2 separate regions of the Homo sapiens genome follow, and region 1 is linked to region 2. The links are contacts of gene promoters, found by promoter capture Hi-C in human tissues and cell types (Jung and others, 2019). All regions are on one chromosome and are shown on one strand. The core of a region is centred on a gene start or on the middle of the fragment in contact, and the rest is flanking DNA. Distances in the headings are between cores, read along the strand shown. Region 1 overlaps THADA (THADA armadillo repeat containing). Region 2 holds the start of DYNC2LI1 (dynein cytoplasmic 2 light intermediate chain 1).

What was found. The method cuts DNA at HindIII sites, captures the fragments that hold promoters and counts their contacts. A contact is called where the count stands out against the background at its distance.
Region 1: a fragment that was not itself captured here is called in contact with the fragment with the promoter of DYNC2LI1 in region 2 in 1 of the 25 tissues and cell types used here (H1 embryonic stem cells).

What each region holds. Positions count from the first base shown.
Region 1 is chr2:43,578,177-43,584,221 of GRCh38, reverse strand. It overlaps THADA (THADA armadillo repeat containing), which reads left to right. Exons shown (of 38, transcript NM_022065.5): 8 at 2,294-2,481; 9 at 5,615-5,709. Among named protein-coding and RNA genes, the nearest start is that of THADA, 15 kb to the left of the region's middle. RefSeq lists a silencer at 1,497-1,716. The HindIII fragment of the contact is 5,407 bases long and covers 1,429-6,045 here.
Region 2 is chr2:43,770,774-43,777,320 of GRCh38, reverse strand. It overlaps DYNC2LI1 (dynein cytoplasmic 2 light intermediate chain 1), which reads right to left and starts at 3,282. Exons shown (of 13, transcript NM_016008.4): 1 at 3,175-3,282; 2 at 422-539. The coding sequence starts at 3,182. It overlaps LOC105374571 (a long non-coding RNA gene), which reads right to left and starts at 3,168. Exons shown (of 2, transcript XR_940033.2): 1 at 2,775-3,168; 2 at 2,329-2,448. It also overlaps the pseudogene RN7SKP66. RefSeq lists an enhancer at 3,347-3,396. The HindIII fragment of the contact is 10,095 bases long and covers 1-6,547 here.

The DNA of each region.
Region 1 (6,045 bases), core at 2,883-5,382, 190 kb after region 2:
CCAAAAGAAAGGAAAATTTATTTTTTTAAAAAAGTCTTTTCCTGTAGCCCCAGGTAACCTCTATTCTACTTCCTGTCTTTTTGAATTTGCCTATTCTAGGTGATTCTTATGAATCATGTAGGATTTGTCCTTTTGTGTCAGGCTTATTTCATTTATTTTTCCTTTTTTTTTTTTTTTTTTTTTTAATTGAGACAAGCTCTGGCTCTGTCACCCAAGCTGGAGTGCAGGATTTTGGCTCACTGCAATCTCTGCCTCCCAAGCCCAAGTGATCCTTCCACCTCAGCCTCTGGAGTAGCTGGGCCCACAGACGTCCGCCACTATGCCCTGTTTTTTATATTTTTGGTAGAAATATGGTTTTACCGTGTTGCCCTGGCTGGTTTCAAACTCTTAAGCGCAAGCAGTCCCCCTGCCCCAGTCCCCCAAAGTGCTGGGATTACAGGCGTGTTTTCGAGGGTCTTCCACGTTTGTAGCATATATCAGAATTTCATTCCTTTTTGTGGCCGAATAATATCCCATTGTATGTTTAGACCACATGTTAATCAATCTGTCGATGGACAATTTGATCTGTTTCTACCTTTAGGCTATTGTGAATAATGCTGCTATAAACATTGATATACAAGTATATCTTTGAGTCTCTGCTTTTAGCTCTTTTGGGTATATACGTAGGAGTGGAATCATAAGATAATTCTATATTTAACTTTTTGAGGAACTACCAAGTTGTTTTTCCTAACTTTTGCCTTAATAGGATTATTCTGTGTTTTGCTGTGTTGAGAACTGAGAGGTAAGGACAGAAGCTGCGAGAGACCAGTTAGGAGGCTATGGCAATAACCCAAGGGAGAGATGAGAGTGGCTCAGGCCAAGATGTAGCAGTGGAGTTGGTCTGATTCTAGATGTATTTTGAAGGTAGAACCAACAGGATTTTCTTATAGATGAGATGGAGAGGAGAGGTGGCAAGGATGATTACAATGTTTTTGTAGGATAAAGATGCAGCAGGTACAGCAGATTTGGAGTTGAAGATAAGTTCACTCATTTAGAGATGTCTGTTAGACATCCAAGTAAAAATATCAGGAAGTTAGATATACCAGAAAGGAATTAGACAGAGAGGTCTGGGTTAGAGATAAAAATTTGGGAATTATCAGCATGTAGATTATAATTTAAAGCTGATGAGCTAAAAGAGATCAGCAAAGGAGAGAATTAGATGGAGAAAAGAAGAGGAATAAAGACTGAGTCCTGGACATTCCTAACATAAAAAGATCAGGGAGAAGAGGATGAATTAGTGAAGGTATCCGAGAAGGAGTGCTGGTGAAGTAGGGGAAAATCTGCGAGAGCCTGGCATTTTAGAAGTCAGGGAGAGGCTGGGCATGGTTGTTCACGCCTGTAATCTCAGCACTTTGGGAGGGCGAGGCAGGTGGATCACTTGAGGTCAGGAGTTTGAGACCAGCCTGGCCAACATGGTGAAACCCCTGTCTCTACTAAAAATATAAAAATCAGCTGGGCATGATGGCTTGCTTGTAATCCCAGCTACTTGGGAGGATGAGGCAGGAGAATCGCTTGAACCCGGGAGGTGGAGGTTGCAGTGAGCCCAGATTGCACCACTGCACTCCAGCCTGGGTGACAGAGGGGGAGACTCTGTCTCAAAAAAAAAAAAAAAAGCCAGGGAGGGAAAATATATCAATGTTGAGAGAGTGTTCAAGTTTGTAAGTTATGTCATTTTTTTTTTTTTTTAAGATGGTGTCTTGCTCTCTCACCCAGGCTGGAGTGCAGTAGTGCCATCTCGGCTCACTGCAGCCTCCACCTCTGGGGTTCAAGCGATTCTCCTGCCTCAGCCCCCTGAGTAGCTGGGATTACGGGCATGTGCCACCACACCTGGCTAATTTTTGTATTTTTACTAGAGACATGGTTTCGCCATGTTGGCCAAGCTGGTCCCAAACTCCAGACCTCAAATGATCTACCTGTCTCGGCCTACCAAAGTGCTGGGATTACAAGTGTGAGCCACTTCGCCCAGACTGAGTTCTGTCATTCATTCTTGATTTCTTATCTTTGCCCTAAAAGAAGTGAAGTTAGTTATTGGCTGAGAAAGAGGGACATGTAGATTAAGTTAACAGTGTTGAAAGTTTGCAATTAATGTCTACATAATTGGAATGTTTATAGGAATGGAAGAGAGAGGAATAAATTATCATAATTTAAAATTGATTTTGGGCCTTTGAGGAATGTATTTATTTTGCTGATAATTAGAAATGTTCACACTTTTGTTTGAATTTCCTTTTGTAATAATGTCTTTTCTTCTTTATAGAAAATGTGCTGGAAATCATATTATTCAAACACAGTTGATGAATGACTTACTGGTAGGCATTAGAGTTTCAATGATGTTAGTACAGAAAGTACAAGATTTCCAGGGAAATCTTTGGAAGACTTCCGATTCTCCCATATGGCAAAATATGTGTGGATTGCTGAGTATTTTTACCAAGGTTTTAAGCGATGGTAAGTGTAACAAATTATATACAAATGATATATAATTGACAGTTAAAATTGAGTGTCAATCAGCTTTTCCTACTAATAGTGTGAAATGTGATACTTAACTGAGATGTGGAATGTGTCCTTACTCAGCCTCTCAAAAATGGAGGGAGGCCCTGGACTACATGGTTTTTTTTTTTTTTCTTTTCTTTTTTTTTTTTTTTGAGACCGAATCTCACTGTGCTGCCCAGGCTGGAGTGTAGTGGCGTGATGTTTATTCACTGCAACCTCTGCATGTTGGGTTTCACATCCCAGGTTCAAGCGATTCTCGTGCCTCCGCTTCTGAGTAGCTGGGATTATAGGAGGGTACCACCACACCTGACTAATTTTTTGTATTTTTAATAGAGAAAGGGTTTTGCCATGTTGGCCAGGCTGTTCTGGAACTCCTGGCCTCAAGTAACCTGCTTACCGTGGCCTCCCAAGGTGCTGGGATTACAGGTGTGAGCCACTGTGCCCAGCCTGGGTGACTGAGTTCTATTTCTTGCCTTGGAAGATAGGTTCAAGGGTGATCACTTTTTAATAATTTATTAAGCTGTAAATTTGTTTTCTGTCACTTTTTTGGAATCTGTGGTTTATTATTATAATAAGATTAACGAAAAAGTGACACCTAACACAAGTATTTATATAAAAAGTTGAATTATCCTTTCTCTCTTCACCTCCCATTCTATATGGTAATATATGTTTGAATGTAACTTAATTAAAAACATGCTAATGGGATCTCTTTAGAGCTCTTGTTAGTGAAAAACAATAACTGACTCTGGTTTTGCTAGGCTGATTGGAAGACAATAGCATCTCATTGTTTGTGTTTTTTGGTTTTTTTTTTTGTCTGAGATGGAGTCTCTCTTTGTCGCCCACACTGGAGTGCAGTGGCGTGATCTTGGCTCACTGCAACCTCTGCCTCCCAGATTCAAGCGATTTTCTTGCCTCAGCCTCCCGAGTAGCTGGGATTACAGGCATGCACCACCACGCCTGGCTAATTTTTTTTTTGTATTTTTAATATAGACGGGCTTTCACCATGTTGGCCAGGCTGGTCTGGAACTCCTGACCTCAGGTGATCTGCCCGCCTTGGCCTCCCAAAGTGGCTCAGGTGTGAGCCACCGCGCCTGGCCTCATTGTTTGTGTTTTTAACCCTGGTAATGAAAGTCTTAGCTATATTTTGTCCAATTAGTATTTCTATTTCTCTTTTTGCCTGGGTTCTCAGGTATTAAAAGGAAAGGAAAGTAGTTAAAGTTACTTTTATTAAGACATAACTTACAGAAAACTTTTCAGAGGTTATTTACTTTTTAAAAGAGGACTGTGTTAGTCTAAAAAAAAGATTCTCTAACTAATGAAATGTAGAGAATACATGATTTTAATATGAGGTAACTTCGGCCGGGTGTGGTGGCTCATGCCTGTAATCCCAGCACTTTGGGAGGCCAAGGCGGGCAGATCACGAGGTCAGGAGATTGAGACCATTCTGGCCAACATGATGAAATCCTGTCTAAAATACTAAAAAACTAAAATACAAAAAAAAACATTAGCTGGGCGTGGTGGCGTGCACCTGTAGTTCCAGCTACTCGGGAGGCTGAGGCAGGGGAATCAGTTGAACCCGGGAGACAGAGGTTGCAGTGAGCCAAGATCATGCCACTGCACTCCAGCCTGGCAACAGAGCAAGCCTCCGTCTCAAAAAAAAAAAAAAAAAAAGAAGTAGCTTTTTTTCCGAAAAGTTGATGGCACCTAATCAGTACTATTCTTTTCCAGCATTTTAAAGCTTCATAATCAGTAAAGTGTTTAGCTGCAAGTAACTGAAAACCAAACCTCCTTTCCCACATAACAAGTTCAGAGGCAGGTCATCCAGAACTGGTATAGGCAGTGTACGACCCACACATTTTCTGCTTTTCTGCTGTGCCATCTTCAGCAGGTTGGTTTTCACCCACGTTTGTTGCCTCGTGGTTGCCATATGACTGCTGTAGCTCCAGATGTGTCTTTATTCAAGGCAGGAAGAAGGAAGGCCAGTTGCGTCTTTACTTTTGATCAGGATACTCAAGTGACTGGCTTAAATCCAACTGGCCTGAACCCTCTTATATGCCTACCTTTAGTTGCAAAGAAGATTGAAGAAGCAAGTATCCTGCTTTTGGCTGGGCATGTGGCTTCCCCAATCAAAGTCACAGTTTTCTTATCAGTGATGAAGGGCAGAGTGGATATTTAGTACGTAGTTTATGATGTCATAAAGAAGTGTTACTTCTTTCCCCAGGTTGAACAACTCACCATGGTATTAGAGGCTAATAGAGATAAAACAAAAAGAAGATACCAAGTCAAAACTGTTTGGTTGCTATGGGTACAGTGTCAGTGCTAGCAAAGTTTGTAATTAGCACTTACCTACATTCTTTATACAAGCCCTGAAATCTCTTTTTGAAAAAGTCTGTGTATATGGTGATTGGGATACAGAGGCATTGGTGGAGGGGAGGGGACAGGTGGTGTTGCTGTTAGGTGTTTTGGGAAGCAATAGTTGGCGAGGAAGAAAGTGTATGTTAGAGGAGAGAGGAAGGAATCACGTTTATTGAGTATCTATATGCTGGGCTTAAAAGCCTTTATATTCAGCCGGGCACAGTGGCTCATGCCTGTAATCCCAACACTTTGGGAGGCCGAGGCAGGCGGATCACAAGGTCAAGAGATCGAGACCATCATGGCCAACGTGGTGAAACCCCATCTCTACTAAAGATACAAAAATTAGCTGGGTGTGGTGGCACGCGCCTGTAGTCCCAGCTACTTGGGAGGCTGAGGCAGGAGAATCGCCTGAACCCAGGAAGTAGAGGTTGCAGTGAGCTGAGGTCACGCTACTACACTCCAGCCTGTCAACAGAGTGAGACTCCTTCTAAAAAGCGTTTATGTTCATTATTCATCTAAACCTGACACTGCCTCAGTTAAGAGTTATCCCATTTTACCCAAGAGAAAAGAGAGTCTGTGGGATGTTAAATAACTTAGGTAAGACCTATTCACCCAGGAAGTGGTCAGACTAGAAATTGTACCCAGGCCTATCTGGCTGCTCAGCATCTGCTCTTTCCACTCTACCAGAATATTCATTATTTAACACAAGCTTCTCTCCTTTTTTGCCAAATAGATGATCTGTTACAGACTGTACAGAGCACATCTGGATTAGCTATTATTCTTTTTATTAAGACTATGTTTCACCCGTCTGAAAAGATTCCTCATTTGGTAAGTGCATCTCCTTTTTAGAATTGTACTTTATTGAGAGTTAGGGTATGTTTAAAAAATAATTTTGGCTTGGTGCAGTGGCTCACACTTATAATCCCAACACTTTGGGAGGCCAGGGCAGGAGGGTCACTTGAGGCCAGGAGTTTGAGATTAGCCTGGGGAGTTTAGCTAGACCTTGTCTCTACAAAAAAAAAAAAAGAAAATTTGCTGGGTATGGTGGTGCACAGCTGTAGTCCCAGCTCTTTGAGAGGTTGAGGTAGGAGGATCGCTTGAGCCTAGGAGTTTAAGGCTGCAGTGAGATAAGATTGCACCAGTCTGGGCAACAGAGTGAGACCT
Region 2 (6,547 bases), core at 2,033-4,532:
ATATTTCAAAATAATTAATAACCCTGTAACAAATATCATTGACACAGTTCAATTATTCCTTTAATGAGATTTCTAAAAGTAAAGTAACAATCTAAAATATAAAATTGTTAAGATACTGACTTACTGATTTAGAGACTGACTTAGATATTTACATGAATCCTAGCTTTTACACTCAATTGTGGTAGAAGACCTGAATATTTTCAAATCATGAAATAAAAAATAGTTTAAATATATTTTTCTAAAATTTTGTTTACTATTATAGTTTTTCCTAGATTAATAATAAGCACTTTTTAATTCATGCTAAACCAGATTGGTCATCTGGTTAAAGTGTTGAAGTATCTACATTTTAATCAAAGTATTAACAGATATTTTACCAATGGTTGTTAAATCATCACAATAATTGAAAAAAAGAAAGCATTACCCCATTTTTACTGCCAATGAAGAAAACAAATTTTTCTGCAATTTCAGCTCCATCACCTTCACTTCCATTAATTCCCCTTTTTTCCACTTCAGCTTTTGCAATTTCCCAGAGAGTTTCACTACATGAGAGGCAGAAAAAACAAAATTGAGGGAAAAAGAATTCTTTCAAATATTTATTTCAAGCTCAGAGAAATTTTATTTCAGTATAATTTATGAAACAAATGAACATTATTTTCTGAGGAACAATAATCTGGTAAAACATCTGAGGATTAGTCATTCTATGATTTTATTTTTCTTTTGTTGCTTTGAACTAGTTCTCTGAAGAATACTGAAATTGATAAGCAGAGCCTTTATTGCCAGGATTTGAGGCTGTCACATTTGGGTCTTCCCCTACGGTTCATAGCTGTGTATGTCAGCTTCTCAGACACATATGGAGGTACAATGACTTTGGGAATGTACAACTTGAAAACCACAAACATTTAAGTCACCTAGGAAGATGGGAAAAGTACAAAACCAGTGTATCAAATAATCTTTCCTCCCTGAAACATTTCTTTTTTGTGTTTTAGATTATGTTTTTAGGTAAAAAAAAATTTTGTTTAATATAAAAGTATATGGGAGGCTGAGGCAGGAGGATCACTTGAGATCAGCCTAGGCAATACAGGAAGATCCCATCTCTACTACTGCTACTACTACTACTACTACTAATAAATTAGCATGGGGGAGGGATAGCATTAGGAGAAATACCTAATGTAAATGATGAATTAATGGGTGCAGCAAACCAACATGGCACATGTATACATATGTAACAAACCTGCACGTTGTGCACATGTATCCTAGAACTTAAAGTATAAAAAAAGAAGAAGAAGAAAAGAAAACAAACAAAAAAAATTGGCTGAGGCTGGGAGTGGTGGTTCACACCTGTAATCCCAGCACTTTAGGAGGCCAAGGTGGGTGGATCACTTGAGGTCAGGAGTTCAAGACCAGCCTGGCCAACATGGTAAAACCCCATCTCTACTAAAAAAAAAAAAAAAAAAAAAAAAAAAAAATTGGCCAGGTGTGGTGGCGGGTGTCTGTAACTCCAGCTACTCAGGAGGCTGAGGCATGAGAATCACCTGAACTCAGGAGGTGGATGTTGTATTGAGCCAAGATCGTGCCACTGCACTCCAGCCTGGGCAACAGAGCGAGACTCTGTCTAAAAAAAAAAAAAAGAAAATAAAAAAAGAAAAAGAAAAGAAATTAGCTGGGTGTGGTGACATGCACTCGTGGTCCCAGCTACTAGGGAGGCTGAGGCAGGAGGATTGCCTGAGCCCTGGAGGTCGAGGCTGCAGTAAGCATGTTGACATCACTGCACTCCAGCCTGGGTGACACAGCAAGACCTTGTCTCCCCCCGCCAAAAAAAAACCATAAAGAAAGAAAGAAAAAAAAACCCTAAAACCACAAACATTTTGAAAACAATCCTTTCATTGATTTCTTTACACAGATATATAACTTTACACGATAAAATCATATATATATTAATTAAAGCCTAAGTGAAAATGGAATATTAAACTAAAAACTAACCATGGGCAAGACCTGATAGGTCCTAGCCTGATTCTGCTACTTCCTATGTATGTGAACTTGGGAAAACTACCTAACCTCTTTAAATCCTTCATTCCTTTATTAATTAAACAAATATTTATTGAGCACCTAATATATGCAATCCTCTGTGCTATTCCCCAGGCTCAATTGTTTCTCTATCTCTAAAAAGCCAATAAAAAAGAGTATCAGCTTTATAGGATTGTCATAATTGTTAAAATATATATGTAGTTTAGGGCATGGCCTATACAATTACAAAAATTATTGAGGGCTTGTAATTATACTATTCAAGAACCAGGAATAAGAAAAAGGGTCAAAACAGGAGTCCTTAAATGTTTGCACTAAAATTCATGCATTTATTTCACAGGTGAGCCTTCAGAACTCAGTTTCGGGCTGTTTGCTCTTCATTTACACAACATTCTTTCAAAATATGAGGATCTGCTTTCCAAATACCTAGCAGAGAGGAAAGACGGAGGTGCTGCAGTCAGCCACGACACCTGCGGAAATCGGGAAGTATAACCATAGCTTTATAACTAACCAATTATCCCTTGATGGAAAGCTGACAATTCTCCACACTATCCCAAGGAGAGAAAAAGATTTATCCTGCTCTGTGATGCACTCCCTGACCCCTCTCCCCGACGTGCTTAAGCATAAATTGTTGAGAAAAGGTTTAGGAATATCTTGTGAACAGGTAATTAAAATGAATATCATAGAATTGAACAGCTAGAATATAGTTTACAAACCCTCTCCCGTTTCCCCCCTTAAAAGTGATGTTATACTTTCCACAGTGCCTTCCAAGTTTCCCCTCGCTTATTACTGCGAACCCCCGCACCAGGAGGGGAGGCCCCTGGGGAGAGGAGGCTTTGTGGTCTAGCTCATCGCCGAATGTCCTGCTCCGGAAGTAGTCTCTGGCCTGCAAGAAACTTTTATTCAATCATTGAATGGGTGGAGTTGCTGATCTTTCCAAATCTCTCACTTTTCTACCTAGGGAACTTTCTTTTCTTTCCTGTTTGCGGCAGAATCTTTATGCTCAAGGCTGATTCCTAGGTCCCCGACCCTGCATATCCTGGTGGCAAGTAGCCACCCCCACAATCTTCCAACAGCTGGTCCCGCCTGGGCTTCCTCTCTCCAGGAATACTCTCAGTAGCCTTTCCCACGCAAGCCGGGTTCAGGGAATACCTGGGCATCGTCGACGGCCTGGCTGCCGCAAACGTCACAGGCTCGGAGTAGTGACCAGCCTAGAATCAGGCGGCGAGCTCCGCAAGGAGTCTGGGAGTGAGGCCTTCTGGGTTGCCATGGGAGCGACGTCGCGGCCGCGGTTGCGTGGGGAGACGGGCATCATGGGAAATGTAGTTTTCAGGAGTCCTTTTACATCTCATTCTCGGCCTCAAGCCTTAGGATTGCTTTTAGATCCCAAGTTAGTAACTCCTTGTTACCTCCTAGAACGAGATGATAAGGGGTTACAAACCTGGGATCTAAAAGCAATTTTCTTTTATTTTAAAATTTTTTTACTGGGTGTCAACTATATGCCAAGGGTCTCTGCTCTCTCTCTCTCTCATCTTTCACTTTTTTCTTCCCAATCGCCATGATTTAGGAATAGAGGGTGTAACAATCTCTTGAGCTGTTTTCTGCTAATTTACTAGAAGCAAGGAATATTCGGACTTTAAAATTTAAAATAAGGCACGTAATTTTAATATTTTCCAACTTTCTAGATGTTTAGTTGTTTCAAGTTTTATTCAATAGCACATTGTGTATTTATTAATAAATTAATGAAGCAAGTGCATCTCCTACATACTTCATTTACTTTGTGAATGTAGATTATTTTCTTTTGGAACTTTGTGGTCTCTTTATAGATCTGCAGGAGTGTCCAAATAAATAACGAGCATTGAAATAAATAACAATCATTGAATATGCAAGGCCCTATGCTACACAGAATAAGGAATAAAGAGATGAGTAAGAAAAGATCGCTGCCCTTAAGAAAGACACACACTCAGCTAATTATAAGCACCTAAGGAAGTGAGTGATCTAAACTATTGTATAGAGGTACAAAAATTGCATGAGGGCAAGTGACCAATTATGCCTGAAGGAGATGGTGAAACCATGGCACTGATAGTATTTGGTCTGTATTGAATGCTGAGTAGACTCAGGCTTTCTAGCCTAAGATGCCCTGAATATTTGAAGGAGATACCCTCCCTCCAGTCCTCTACTATTCGGCTTGATTTCTATGGTGCGATGTTCAAGTACATGGGCTTTGGCGTGAGATGGACCTAGGTTCAAGTTCTGACTTGGCCACGCTGGCTAAGTTGTCACATTGCCACATCGGGTAAATCACTGAATTTCTGATCCTGTAAAGCGGGAAAGATTGTGAATCTTAAATGAGATAAATGTAGGTAAAACATAACTTACGTGGGTGTCTGACACATTATAACTGCTTAATGCTTGTTATTATTGTGTGATAAGCTGCTGGTCAGCAACTTCGAACAAAGAAACACAAGGAACACATTCCTGGAAACAAGGCTGATGGTTGATAAAAGGGTGTTTATTTCAAATAAAGTCATTGGGAACAAAATCCTCCCAACACCTAGGTATATTTTGGAGACGTAAAGAACACTAAGCTGCACATAGGAAGGGAATTAATGGGAGTAGAGCTCACCGAAGAAAGGATGATTTTTCAAAGGAGGCTTATACATCTGTCATTGAATCAACAGCTATAGCCTGGTGCTAAGCCAGACTTTAAGCTCACAAACTGATATGGGACAGATTGTAATGAATTGTAATGATTTGGGTTCTAGAACTTCAGAATACTTTTGCATGCTAGTTAGGAAGGCCTGTTGATATTGATAGCAATAACGACAGCTAACATTTTTGCCAAGTGCTTGCTATGTACTGGGCACAATACTCAGTACGAGTACTTCAAAAGTACACTTGTTTGAATAACGGGGAGAGGTGTTTGAAGGAGGGAGCTTGGTAACCAGGAAAGTGAAGGTGATCCGGCTGGGCCCTGATCAGCAGCATTGATTCAGGGTTGATTCAGTTGATCTGACTGAGCAGGTGAGTTCCCCTTTCTTCCCTCATTCCTCTTGAGGCCTTCATACTTGGGCAAAGAAAGTGACTTTCCTGGGTAGATGAAGATTGTTCTTAAGGTAAGAATGGAAGGAGAAGGAGACAATTTTATGCTGCTTTCTGGATGGAATGAGCAACAGTGCAGAAGGGTAAAGGCGTGTGCAGGATGTATTTGGGAAACTGAATAGTTTGGGTTGCGATCATATAAAGTGCCTGGTGGAGCTACAGTGGAAGAGCAAACTGGGCAGGTAGATGGGGCTACTGTGAAGGATGCTGTAGTCTAGACTTTACTGTGTTGGTTATGAGAAACCAAATAGGGTTTAAAAATAGGAGTGTGCCATGATTAGACATGAATTTCAGTGAGATAATTTTTTGCAGTTGTGTGAAGGGTGGTTTGGCATCTAGAAGACCATGCGGAGGCTATTAACAATAGCTAGGAAAGTGACAGGCAGAGTTTTAAAATTTTTTCCCTTGTTTTCAAAGTTATATAAGCTAATTGTAGGGGAAAAAACGTATGCACAGAAAATTAAGAGGGTAAAATAAGCATAAGCCAGAAGTAGTAACTATTAGGTATTTTGGAAATACATTTGATATGTTTCATTCTAATCTTTTTTCTTACAAAGTTGAGATTAATTGTAAAGTTAATTAATGTCCTGATTTTAACATGTATTTCCCCATATCAAATTTTAAAAATGCACCATATCAAATTTTAAAACTGCATCATAAACATAACTTTGATGGTTGCAGAATATTTCACTGCATAGATTTTTCGTAATGTACTTAAGCATTCTCCTAATGTTGAGTACATTTGGGGTGGTTCAGAGTGAACACCTAACATGAGCTGGGTTAATCACAGTCCTTCCCTGAAATTTTTCAAACTAGAATTGGGAAAAGTAAGTCACTCTACCTCTAGAGGAAATTAGCATATTTTATGCTAAATGAATTATTTTGTAGTTAGTGAGCACACATCAGACACACATCAATATGAAGGGAAAGTGCTGGCATATGTCTCATGGTTCTAATTGTCCCTAAGGCTTGCCTGTGTCCTCACCTTTCTTATGGCTTGGTTGTTCAGCTTGCTCTTTGATTATATGAGACATCCTAATATCCTTGTAATACAATTTCTCATTTTTGTCTAAGCTAGTTCAAGTTGAATTTTGGAATTTACAGCAAAAAGAGTTCTATCTAATACAATTACTAGACAGTAGAAAGTAAGACGTTGGTAAAAGGGAGAAAAGTCAATGTTTCCTTCTTGATGGATGAACTGGTGATCCTCTTAACCAATTTTAAGGGGCACAGAGCAGGAGAAGCAGGTTTAGAGGACATGGTGAGTTTGAGATATCGTCCAGCAGACAGTTGGACCATTTGGGGTCTGCTGGACTTGGCAGTTAAGTGGTCAGTGATAACCTCATGTGAAGATGTTTCGATAGAATAGTCAGTACATGAAAGCAGTGTTGATGATACCCTATCCCTGAGTGGAACATCTTAT